Regions from separate parts of the Homo sapiens genome. Here regions 1 and 2 are each linked to region 3. The links are contacts of gene promoters, found by promoter capture Hi-C in blood cells and fetal thymus (Javierre and others, 2016). All regions are on one chromosome and are shown on one strand. The core of a region is centred on a gene start or on the middle of the fragment in contact, and the rest is flanking DNA. Distances in the headings are between cores, read along the strand shown. Region 1 overlaps FAM24B (family with sequence similarity 24 member B). Region 2 overlaps LOC105378519 (a long non-coding RNA gene). Region 3 holds the start of ATE1 (arginyltransferase 1).

Region 1 (3,709 bases), core at 921-3,420, 950 kb before region 3:
CAAAAGCCTTCTCTCAAGGGAAAGTACTTTACCAGAGCCTTATCTGTTCTAGGGAAAGGGCAATTAGAAGATTCCAGCCCCCTCTAGCCTTCCCGTTGTTAGTGGTAGTGAATCTGCAGGGGGCTGCAGCAACCTCAATTCTTGTCAGAAGAAAGAATTCGACCAAGGGTCATAAGGAAGAGTGAGAGACCAAGGCAAGTTTTAGGGCAAAAGGAAAAATTTATTTAAAAGCTTTAGAGGTGGAACAAAAGGAAGTAAAAGTACACTTGGAAGAGGGCCAAGCAAGCGCCTTGAGAGATCAAGTGCGTGGTTGGACCTTTGATTTTGGGTCTTACATGTTGACATGCTTCCAGGGTTGCATTATTTCTTGCTAATTCTTCCCTCAGGGTGGGCTGTCTGCATGCTCAGTGGCGTGCCAGCACTAGGGCGGGGCTGTATGCATAGTGTGTTTACTGGAGTTGTATGCATGCTCACTTGAAGCATTCTTCTCTTACCCATCAAATGTTCTTAGAAGGTCATATACCAGTTAAACTCTGCCATTTTGCCTCTTAGTGCACATGCTTGAACCCACTTGTCCAACTCCTGAGATCTTATCGGCAAGCCGTTGATCACCAGTTTCAGGGTTTTTTTTTTTAATTAGGAGACTGCCTTTCCCTAGTGCCAGCTGTGACCAATTATTATCAGACTACATTTTATTTAAAAGGAGTCTCTGGGGATACCCAAAGACAATGACAATGTGGAAACTCAAAGCAAGAATAGTAGATTGAAGCCTCTGACACTGATAACTACAGCAAACATTAAACACAGCCTAACTTCTAGTCAGATTGACATGAATCAAGTAGCCTGATTACCTCAGTTTCTATATATTCTTCCAGATATATTATGTCTGGCTTTCAACAAAGATTTACAAAGCACGGTAAAAGGCAAGAAAGAACAAGAAACAAAGGAAATATCAGAACCATTCTTACATATGATGCAGATTTTGTAATTCTCAAGTAGGGAATTTAAGGTAGCTATGATTGATATATAAGGGCTCTAATGGAAAAAGCAGATAGCATACAAGAGTGAATGGGTAATGTAAGCAGAGATATGGAAACTCTAAGGAAGATATAAAAGGAAATGATAGAAGTCAAAAAACAATGTGACAAATGAATGCCTTTGATGGGTTTATCAGGAGACTGGACAGGCCAAAGAATAAATGAGCTTGAAGAACTGTTAATAAAAACTGAAAAGCAAAGAAAATAGAGATGAAAAAGTAGACTATCCAAGAACTGCTGGACAGTTATAAAACTTGTAATAACATGTATAATGGTAATACCAGAAGTAGAAGAAAGAGAAGAGAGTAGAAGAAATATGTGAGAAATAATGGTTGGGAATTATCCAAAATTAATGACACCAAACCCGTTCTTAGAGCAGGAAGCTTGGAGAACACCAAGCAAGATAAATACTAAAAGGTCTGTACCAGGGGTGCCCCTGGGCTACCCTGGGAAAAGAAGAATTGTCTTGGGCCACACATAAAATGCAGTAACGCTAACAATGGCTGATGAGCTTAAAAATTGCAAAAAAAACCTCATGCTGTTTTAAGAAAGTTTACAAATTTGTGTTGGGTTGCATTCAAAGCCGTCCAGGGCCGTATACAGCCCGCAGGCTGTAGGTTGGACAAGCTTAGTCTGTACCTAGGCATATTATATTCAAGATGGGAAAACCAAAGTCAAAGAGTCATTGAAAGGAGCCAGAGGAAAAAATACATGCTATAGAGGAACAAGAAAAGAATTATATTTCTGATTAGAAACCAAGCAAGAAGGGACTGGAGTGAAATATTTACAATGTTGAAAGAGAAATCACACCAACCTAGAATGTATCCACAAGAATTACCTTTCAGAAGTGAAGGAGACTTAAAGATTTTCTTAAACAAAAGCTAAGGAAATTTGTCAGTGATAAACCTGTGTTGCAAAAAATATTAAAATAAGTTCTCCAGAGGGAAGGAAAATGATCCAAGGTCATGAACTTGGATCTATATAAAGGAAGAGCATCAGAGAAGGAATAAATGAAGGCAAAATAAAATCCTTAATGTATATGTACCTAACAACAGAGCATCAAATATGTGAAGCAAAAATTGATAGAACTGCAAAGAGAAATAGACAAATTCACTATTACTCTTGGAGACTTCAACAACCCTGGATCAGTAATTGACAGTTTCAGCATGCAGAAAATCAGTAAGAATATAGTTGAACTGAATTGTACCATCTGTCCACTGGATCTAATTGGTATTAATAGGACACGTCAACAATAGCAGAATACACATTTTTCTGAAACACTCCTAGAACATTTACCAAGATAGAGCACATTCTAGGCCATAAAACACCCCTTAACAAATGTAAAAGAATAGAAATTATACAAAGTATGTTCCTAGATCACAATGGTATTTAATTAGAAATTTGTAACAGGAAAATACTTGAAAAATCCTAAAATATTTGGAGATTAACAGACATATTTCTAAAATAACACTTGGCTCGAAGTTTCAAGAGAAATTTAAAAATATTTCAAACTAAATGAAAGTGAAAATACAATTCATCAGAATTTGTAGAATTCAACAAGAGCAGTGCTTACAGGGAAACGGAGAGTACTGAGTACATGTTGGAAAAGAATGATCTAAAATCTATTATGTAAGCTTTCACCTTAAGAAACTAGAGAAAGAAGAGCAATATATAGGCACACCTAAGAGATACTGTGAGAAATTGCTATCTATGGCTACTAAAGCCTTATGAAATGTATTTCTTATACAATAAGACTTGAAAGTTGAAATTACTCCTTGATCCATGGGCTGCGGAATGGATGTTGTGTTGGTAGACATGAAAACATTAATCTCCTTGTACATCACCATCCGAGCTCTTGGGTGGCCCTGGCCAAGCATCAGTTAGCACTAATGTATTGAAAGGAACTTTTTTCTGAGCAGGAGGTCACAGCAGGGAGCTTAAAATATTCAGTAAACCAATGTGTTGTCATCCTGGTTTTGTTGTTCCATTTATAAAGCAAAGACAGAGCAGATTTAGCATAATTCTTAAGAGCCCTAGGATTTTCAGAATGGTAAATGAGCGTTGGCTTAAACTTGAAATCATCAGCTATATTAGTCCCCAGCAACAAAGTCAGCCTGACTTTTGAGTCAGAATCAGCTTTGAAGCCAGGCGTTGACCTCTCTAGCTGTGCAAGTCCTAGAGGGCATCTTTGTCCTATAGAAGTCTGTTTTCATCTATACTGAAAATCCATTGTTAAATGTGGCCACCTTCATGAATTATCCTAGCTAGAGCAGCTTCTAGATAACTTGCTGTACCTTCCTGTTACACCTTGCACTTTTATGTTATGGAGATGGTTTATTTTTTAAACCTCATGAACTGACCTCTATTAGCTTCAACCTGTTCTTTTTTTATTTTATTTTATTTTTGTATTGTTATACTTTAAGTTTTAGGGTACATGTGCACAACATGCAGGTTTGTTACATACGTATACATGTGCCATGTTGGTGTGCTGCACCCATTAACTCGTCATTTAACATTAGGTATATCTCCTAATGCTATCCGTCCCCCCTCCTCCCACCCCACCACAGTCCCCAGAGTGTGATGTTCCCCTTCCTGTGTCCATGTGTTCTCATTGTTCAATTCCCACCTATGAGTGAGAACATGCGGTGTTTGGTTTTCTGTCCTTGCGATAG
Region 2 (3,794 bases), core at 518-3,017, 980 kb after region 3:
TTTAGTGGGGACGCCGTGGTCAGCTCTGAGCTGTTCCTACTGTTCTTAGTGGAGGTAGCAAGACCCCCGTCTCTCCTGGTGGGTAGTGTGGATGTCGCACAGACAGAAGCTCAGGTGGCAAAGGGTCGTGGAAACTTCTGCACCTTCCAGAATACGTGGGTCCATGGACGTGGACCCACGGCCACGTTAAGGCTCATGTTCATTTGTTCAGTTCACTTATTTAATTCATTTGTTCAGTGGTTCCTTCATTAATTCAGTCAATAATATTGTCTTGAGCACTTACTGTGTGCCAGAACCCAAGGTCGGGGCTAAGGATAGAAAAGAGAACTCGGGAGGCTGAAGCAGGAGAATCGCTTGAACCCGGGAGGCGGAGGTTGCAGTGAGCCGAGATCACCACTGCACTCCAGCCTGGGTGACAGAGTGAGAGTCTCCGTCTCAAAAATAGAAAAAAAAAAGAAAGAAAGAAAGAAAGAAAAAGTAACAGAAAAGATGGCTTACAGTCTTTCTTGCCAGTCTCATGAGGCCAGAATATTTGAAAAAAGCATAAATTAAGATACACAGGATTATGAAACAAACCGATTATACTGTCATGCAGTTATCAAAATATTTTTAAGTGGTGCTATACTCGTATATGTTCTTCGTTGATAGAGGATGTAACAGGATCTACAGACCAATCTATTAACTACAGTCATTTCAAAATAGTGATTAGCCCAGCTGATATTTTGAGATAACTGCATCAACTACGACGTGATAGAAAAACAGCTGTGATTTCTGTTGGAGACAAAGTCACAGACACTGCTAATACACTGTGGCTTGTTGCCGATTTTCATAATTGAGTAAATTGTTAAATCTCAGACAGTGAAAATAATGATATAAATATTTTCCTGTCCAAGTTCATAGACCCCCCTCCTCCAGATTTTATTCACAGACTCCTCGATTAAAAAGCCAGATCGGTGAGCAGAAATAAACAGGGTGAGTGTGGACAGTGATGAGCACTTGGAGGAAATCAACAGGGAGAGAGACTAACGATAAAATCAGAAGGGAGGCCCTGTGTGGGATGCAATGGTCGGGAAACGCCTGGATGAGACCACAGTTCACTCTAAAAGCCCCATACAGAGGTCGGAAACAGCTACCAGGGACTCTGATTTAGCCTGTAAATCTGCACAGTCTTCTTGAACATTTAGATCTGGTGTTCAGGACTGGACTCGGCTTTTGACCACAAGGCCTCCCAATCCGGGAAGTCCAGGTCAGCCTCGTGGACATCCAGAGATTTCATCCCAGGGCACTGAAAGTGAAATCTCTGCCTGGGCCCTGAAGCCACTTGATTTTGCAACTTTACCACCTAAACTTTCCTGGGTCACTCTTGGGGCAACCCATCCAGGGCAAGGGTAGTTTGCATGGCAAATGGAACTTTCCAAAGTTTAACTTGAAAAAGATGGTCGGCATCGGTGTCCTATTTAGAAACCAGGCTCCTTCCAGCCTGGGGATCCCCTGAACCTTCCAGATCTTTATCCAACTTTCATTCAAGCTGTGATTCCCCGGTGCCCCTTCTAAGCCAGCAGCTGTGTGACATCTCTGTTCTCATCCACCCATTTCCAGGCAGCAGCGTGTTGGGGGTGGTTAGGGAGTGTAGTGCTGGGTCACAGGCAGCCTTTGTAACTGCATATGAACCAGTGTGGCAAGCTTGCAGGATGATGTCAGAGCTGGCACCGGCAAAGAACAACTTTGTTGACAAGAAGATTAATTAGACAAATGTAGTGCCCATCAGTTATTGCCACCGCCTCCTCGGGGGTCAGCTCTAGTCAGGCCTTTGCTAGAGATTTTTTTTTTCATCTTTTTAGAGAAAGCTTAATCTCCTAACAAGGCAGCCAAGAAACAGTTCATGGCGTGCCAGAAGAGCAAGTGCATACAAGCATGTTCTGAAGTGAGGGTGCCTGCACACCGCCAGGCTGCAGGGCTGGGGCTGGCCCAGGCTTGGAGCCAACTGGGCCTCTTCCTTCTACCTGTACAGACCCAGCCCCAGGAAGCGTGTTGAGCCCCGAATCCTTCCTCACAAGAGAAGACACCCATTTGTGAGCTCTCTTGGCCTCTCTTCCTCTCTTTCCTGGGAGAGCTGCCCCTTTCATGGAGGGGCGGGCAGACAGCCATGCAGGGTCTTCAGAGCTCGGAGGCTTCCGCCACCTACACCTTCCCTCTTTATCCAAAAGGCACCTGCCCCATTGTCCCATTGTGGGAAGAGGCAATGAATGAATTGCTGAGTGGTAGCGGCCTTATTCATCATTCATCAAATACTCAGTAGGTTTATGGGCATATTATATCCCAGCAACACTGCAGTAAAGGAATGATTCCCATGTATCAGGCCCTGGCCCTGGGGAAGGGGTTATATTCTAGAGGGGGAGGCATGGCAATGAGTAAAATAAATACTCCAAGAAGCTCATCTGCACCAGTGGTAAAGGCCAAGAAGGAGCTAGGAGAGGGGATGTGGTGTTGAGGGCCGGGAGATGGCAGCCATTTTGGAAAAGGTGCCCCTGAGGAGGTGAAATTGAATTGAAACTTGAGGAGGGAGAGAATCTGTGGGGAAGAGCTGACTTCCTGTTGGCTGCAGGGGACAGGAAACTGAGAGTGCCAAGGGAGGGGATGTTCTGTGGATATCTGTTGACTGCATGAATAAAACAAAATGTTTCCAAGCTGTGCTTCTCACACTTTAGTGTTGTGTTAGAATCCTTGGGAAGGAGGGTCTTGTTAAAACATAGATGTCCAGCTCCACTGATTCAGAAGGGCTGGTGCAGGGCCCAGAGAGCTGCATTTTAACAGCCCCCGCCTCCAGGCAGCCCTCCCAGTCCCTCCTGGAGCCCCATCTCCAGGCAGGCGCTCAGCCCTGGATTGCAGCCCTGTCTGTCTGTCAGGCCTACCTGAGGTTTCAGAAAGGCCTCACAGTCAGGCTCCCAGGGGCCCAAAGCCAGTGTGGCTTCAGTGGGACCAACCTGACAGCTCCTTATAACTCTAAGGCCTCCACCTCCCACTGGCCAGCAAGGAGCCCTGGTGGGCAGGGGTGGGGCCTGCTCTGTCTCATCAGGCTATGCCCTATCTAGGGCAAGGGGTCCCTGGGGCTGGGGATGGGCTTCCCCTGGATCCTGTACCCTGCCTTTTAGAGTCACGGATACCTGGAACCCTGAGCCAACCTCCAGGTTTGTGTGGGCCTCTCTCCCTGGGTCCATCATTCTTCTGTGGGTGATGGCTCAGCTGGAACTGGGTGGGGGCGTGGATATGTGGGGCTAGTGGGTATACACACCTGTACACACACACACACGTGTGTGCACTAAAAAGCCAAGTGGGGTGAGGCGTGAAGGGGGTAGGCTGCAGCCTGGCTCTCTGTGCTGCCTTTTTTCGAAAGTCAACTCCTCAGAATTCTAAATTCAAACCTTGCCTTCATGATGATGAAGATGTATTTACCAAGGTAGAAAAATTATGGGTTTTATCTTCTAACAACTGATTGGATTGGTAACCTTTTTTTTTTTTGAGACGGAGCCTTACTCTGTCACCCAAGCTGGAGTGCAATGGCGTGACCTTGGCTCACTGCAACCTCCACCTCCTGGGTTCAAGCGATTCTCCTGCCTCGGCCTCCCAAGTAGCAGGGATTACAGGTGCACGGCGCCGTGCACGGCGCCATGCCCGGCTAATTTTTTTTGTATTTTACTAGAGACGGGGTTTCACTGTGTTGCCCAGGCTGGTCTCGAACTCCTGAACTCAGGCAGTCCACCCGCCTCGGCCTCCCAAAGTGCTAGGATTACAGG
Region 3 (3,746 bases), core at 1,247-3,746:
GGAAGGGAAAGACCTGACCGTCCCCCAGCCCATAAAGGGTCTGTGCTGAGGAGGATTAGTGAAAGAGGAAGGCCTCTTTGCAGTTGAGGTAAGAGGAAGGCATCTCTCTCCTGCTTTTCCTTGGGAATGGAATGTCTCAGTGTAAAACTCGATCATACGTTCTATTTACTGAGATAGGAGAAAACCGCCTTATGGCTGGAGGTGAGACATGCTGGCGGCAATATTGCTCTTTACTGCACTAAAATGTTTGTGTAAAGCCAGACATAAATCTGGCCTACGTGCACATTGAGGCATAGCACCTTTCCTTAAACTTATGACACAGAGATCTTTGCTCACGTTTTCCTGCTGACCCTCTCCCCACCATTACTCTATAGTCCTGCCACATCCCCCTCACCGAGATGGTAGAGATAGTGATCAATAAATACTGAGGGAACTCAGAGACCAGTGCTGGCGCGGGTCCTCCGTATGCTGAGCCCTGGTCCTCTGGGCCCACTGTTCTCTACACTTTGTCTCTGTGTCTTACTTTTTTTCTCAGTCTCTCGTCCCACCTGACGAGAAACACCCACAGGTGTGGAGGGGCTGGCCCCCTTCAACAAGTCACCAGGCCACCAAGAAACCTCCTTCAGCTAGGTACATATCTAACACAGGCCCTTGGGGTCAAGAATGTCAAAACTCACCTCAAAAATTTATTTCTATTTCTCTGAGTTTCATTTCACTTTTTTAAACACACTTAAAACAATATTGTATCATCAGCTTTATTGTTGACTGGGAAAACTATGAGGACAGACAGGCTTAAATTATCTGTGCACGCAGAGGGAAAGATAAGGCATATTACCTTGTTGGAACTCTTTTTTTTTTTTTTTGAGATGGAGTCTCGCTCTTTCGCCCAGGCTGGAGTGCAGTGACGCGATCTCTGCTCACTGCAAGCTCTGCCTCCCGGGTTCACGCCATTCTCCTGCCTCAGCCTCCCGAGTAGCTGGGACTACAGGCGCGTGCCACCACGTCCCGCTAATTTTTTGTATTTTTTAGTAGAGAAGGGGTTTCACCATGTTAGCCAGGATGGTCTCTTATCTCCTGACCTCGTGATCCACCCGCCTCGGCCTCCCAAAGTGCTGGGATTACAGGCGTGAGCCACCGCGCCCGCCCCTGGAACTCATTTTTTAAAAAATTTTTTTGAGATGGAGTCTTGCTCTGTCACACAGGCTGGAGTGCAGCGGCGTGATCTCGGCTCACTGCAAGCTCCGCCTCCCGGGTTCACACCATTCTCCTGCCTCAGCCTCCCGACTAGCTGGGACTACAGGCGCCCACCACCACGCCAGGCTGATTTTTTGTATTTTTAGTAGAGACGGGGTTTCACGTGTTAGCCAGGATGGTCTCAATCTCCTGACCTCATGATACGCCCGCCTCGGCCTCCCAAAGTGCTGGGATTACAGGCATGAGCCTCAATTTTATATTTTGCCCTAGACTCTTATTCCTTAAATCTTCCTTAAAATAGTGGTTGCAAAATGGAGGCCCATGGGCTGGATTCAGCCTGTAAAACTGTTTTGTTTGGACTGTAGAGTTAAAAAAAACAAACAAACCCTGTATTTCCAGCATCTCATTAAAAATCGTATGAGGCACCGGACTTATAGTGGTACAAGACAGCAACTGTCTCTAGCTGACAGTTGTTTCCTTTAAAAGCCGTTAAGAGTTCTTTAATTTGCGAACCCTCGCCATTCACGGAATACCTGCTTGTGTTCTTGTATTCAGGGCACTGGAGTGCGTGCCAGCTGGTCTGGAAGCAGCTCCAGCAAGTCACTTACACGGTGGCCAGGGGCGGCCTGACTTTCAATCCGAGACCCGCCGGGAATGACTTTGGGATAATCACAACCTCCGGTCCTCAGTTTCCTTACCTGTGAAATGGGGCTGATAACGCACAGCTGTGGGAAGCACCGGCCCAAACGCAGGGCTTGGGGACACGACCACCATCCCCGCCCACGGGTCCCCGCGCCAGGCTTCGCTCTCCACCCCTCCCGCCGCGGGCCCCAGCGCTTCGCCGAGGTCGGCCCCGGGCGCCAAGAGGCGTGGTCGGCCCGAGCGGACCCTCGCGGCGGCCATGGCGTCGGTGGTGGAATACAAGGGCCTCAGGGCCGGCTACCACTGCGGCTACTGCGATTCCAAGGAGGGCAAAGCGTCCTGCGGTGAGTGTTCCCGACGCCGGAGTTGGCGCGGCCGCCGCGCCCCGCACAGGCCCTCGGCGGGGGAAAGGGCAGGCTCGCACCCCGACTCCCGCTTCCCTTCCCCTCTTGACTCTCCCCATCCTGTTTCCCTTCCCGCTCTGTCTCTCCGCCTCACCCTCACTGACGACGGCGGCCCCTTATGGAGAAGGAACGGAAATAGTGGAAAGCTGCCCTCGGTCAAGATGGCGCGGGCGGCGTCAGCTCCAAGAGGCGCCGGGCCGGCCGGGCCTGCGGGCGCCCGAGTGGCTTCGCGCGAGCCTCGGGAGGCTCCCGGGCGGCGCGCTGCATTGTGGGGTGGCGGCGGCGGCCGCGCTAGCGACGCGGGGCCGGGCGGCTGAGCGTTCGCGGGGCCGAGGCCATGGCTTTCTGGGCGGGGGGTTCGCCCAGCGTCGTGGACTATTTCCCTAGCGAGGACTTCTACCGCTGCGGCTACTGCAAGAACGAGTCGGGCAGCCGCTCCAATGGTGAGCGAGCCGGGCCGGCGGGCGTGGGAAGCCGGGCGCCCGGGTCTCGGGATCCCAGGGTCCCCCAGCGAGGACGCGAGGGGGCCGGAGCCCCTGGCCCCAGTGCCACGGCCGAGACGGAGGGGGCACTCTCGGGAGGGCCGCGGCGCCGGCTTAGCGGGGCAGCTTCGCGGTGCCTGTTCTGCAGGAAAATCCTAACCGGTGCCCGTACTCTCGAAATCGTGGTGGTCTCCCCAGAGTCGGGAGACGGACGCCCGTCTGGGGTAGATTGTGTGAGGTGAAGGACGGCGCGCAGTGCCAGGGAACGCCCCAGAGCCGTAGTTAATGGCCGGGGCTGACCGGTGGGTGCTGCGGTGGGAGCGTCCCGGGAGCGAGGGCGAAACGCGGTGCAGAGGGAGCTGTGGGTGTGCACACAGGTGCCGGTCATGTATGAATCAGACTTCCCTGGACGAATGTACAGGAAGGATGAGCCCTTTGCATCTCTGGGTTAAAAAAAAAAAAAGTTAAAAAAAAAAAGGACAAGAAACTGGTGACCGCGGTCGCTACCGGCGAGGGATTCTGTTTGTCCTGATCTGTTTGAAATTTTTACCATTTGCTTATATGCCGTGTCTTTCCTCCACCCACCCGGACGACAGCAAAGCCAGCCCACAAGTTTGTTTTGTTTTTCCATCGTGATTCAGATTTCTTTGGGGGAGATTTGTTGCTGGTAAACAAAACATCGTGTTTATTTCCTCTCTTGCCATGCATTTGCCAATATAGAATGTAGACTCTATTATTTTAATAGAACAGTCTAGCTTTGTGGAAAACGAGATTCGCATGAAAACACACAGGCATTTTCCATGAAAAAGGTGTAAGTGGGGAATGATTTGGTCGATAACGGTGTGTGCATTTGCTCCTTCATTAAAAGTGTTTATTAAGTGCTACTTGTGGGCAGCGGTTTTGAGTAGACAGTTATGCAATCGTTAGAAGTGAGGATTATGAAGACTAAATGGAAAAATGCTTCCAGTTTGGACTTAAACGGAGAAAATCAACAGGATGCAAATGGCTTATGCGACATGATTAC

The links. The method cuts DNA at HindIII sites, captures the fragments that hold promoters and counts their contacts. A CHiCAGO score of 5 or more calls a contact.
Region 1: a fragment that was not itself captured here is called in contact with the fragment with the promoter of ATE1 in region 3 in 1 of 17 cell types (activated CD4 T cells); the score reaches 5.9 in activated CD4 T cells.
Region 2: a fragment that was not itself captured here is called in contact with the fragment with the promoter of ATE1 in region 3 in 1 of 17 cell types (M2 macrophages); the score reaches 6.6 in M2 macrophages.

Annotation. Positions count from the first base shown.
Region 1 is chr10:122,872,675-122,876,383 of GRCh38, reverse strand. The region is part of intron 1 of FAM24B (family with sequence similarity 24 member B); the gene reads left to right. All of the region lies in intron 1 of FAM24B-CUZD1 (FAM24B-CUZD1 readthrough), which reads left to right. Among named protein-coding and RNA genes, the nearest start is that of FAM24B, 5.1 kb to the left of the region's middle. RefSeq lists enhancers at 1-73, 74-594. The HindIII fragment of the contact is 1,007 bases long and covers 1,667-2,673 here.
Region 2 is chr10:120,944,096-120,947,889 of GRCh38, reverse strand. All of the region lies in intron 2 of LOC105378519 (a long non-coding RNA gene), which reads left to right. Among named protein-coding and RNA genes, the nearest start is that of WDR11, 95 kb to the right of the region's middle. The HindIII fragment of the contact is 164 bases long and covers 1,686-1,849 here.
Region 3 is chr10:121,926,781-121,930,526 of GRCh38, reverse strand. ATE1 (arginyltransferase 1) reads left to right here and starts at 2,496. Exons shown (of 12, transcript NM_001001976.3): 1 at 2,496-2,683. The coding sequence starts at 2,578. It also overlaps the pseudogene ATE1OSP. RefSeq lists silencers at 1-93, 1,915-2,214, 2,405-2,824 and enhancers at 1,730-2,596, 3,135-3,284. The HindIII fragment of the contact is 6,802 bases long and covers 1-3,746 here.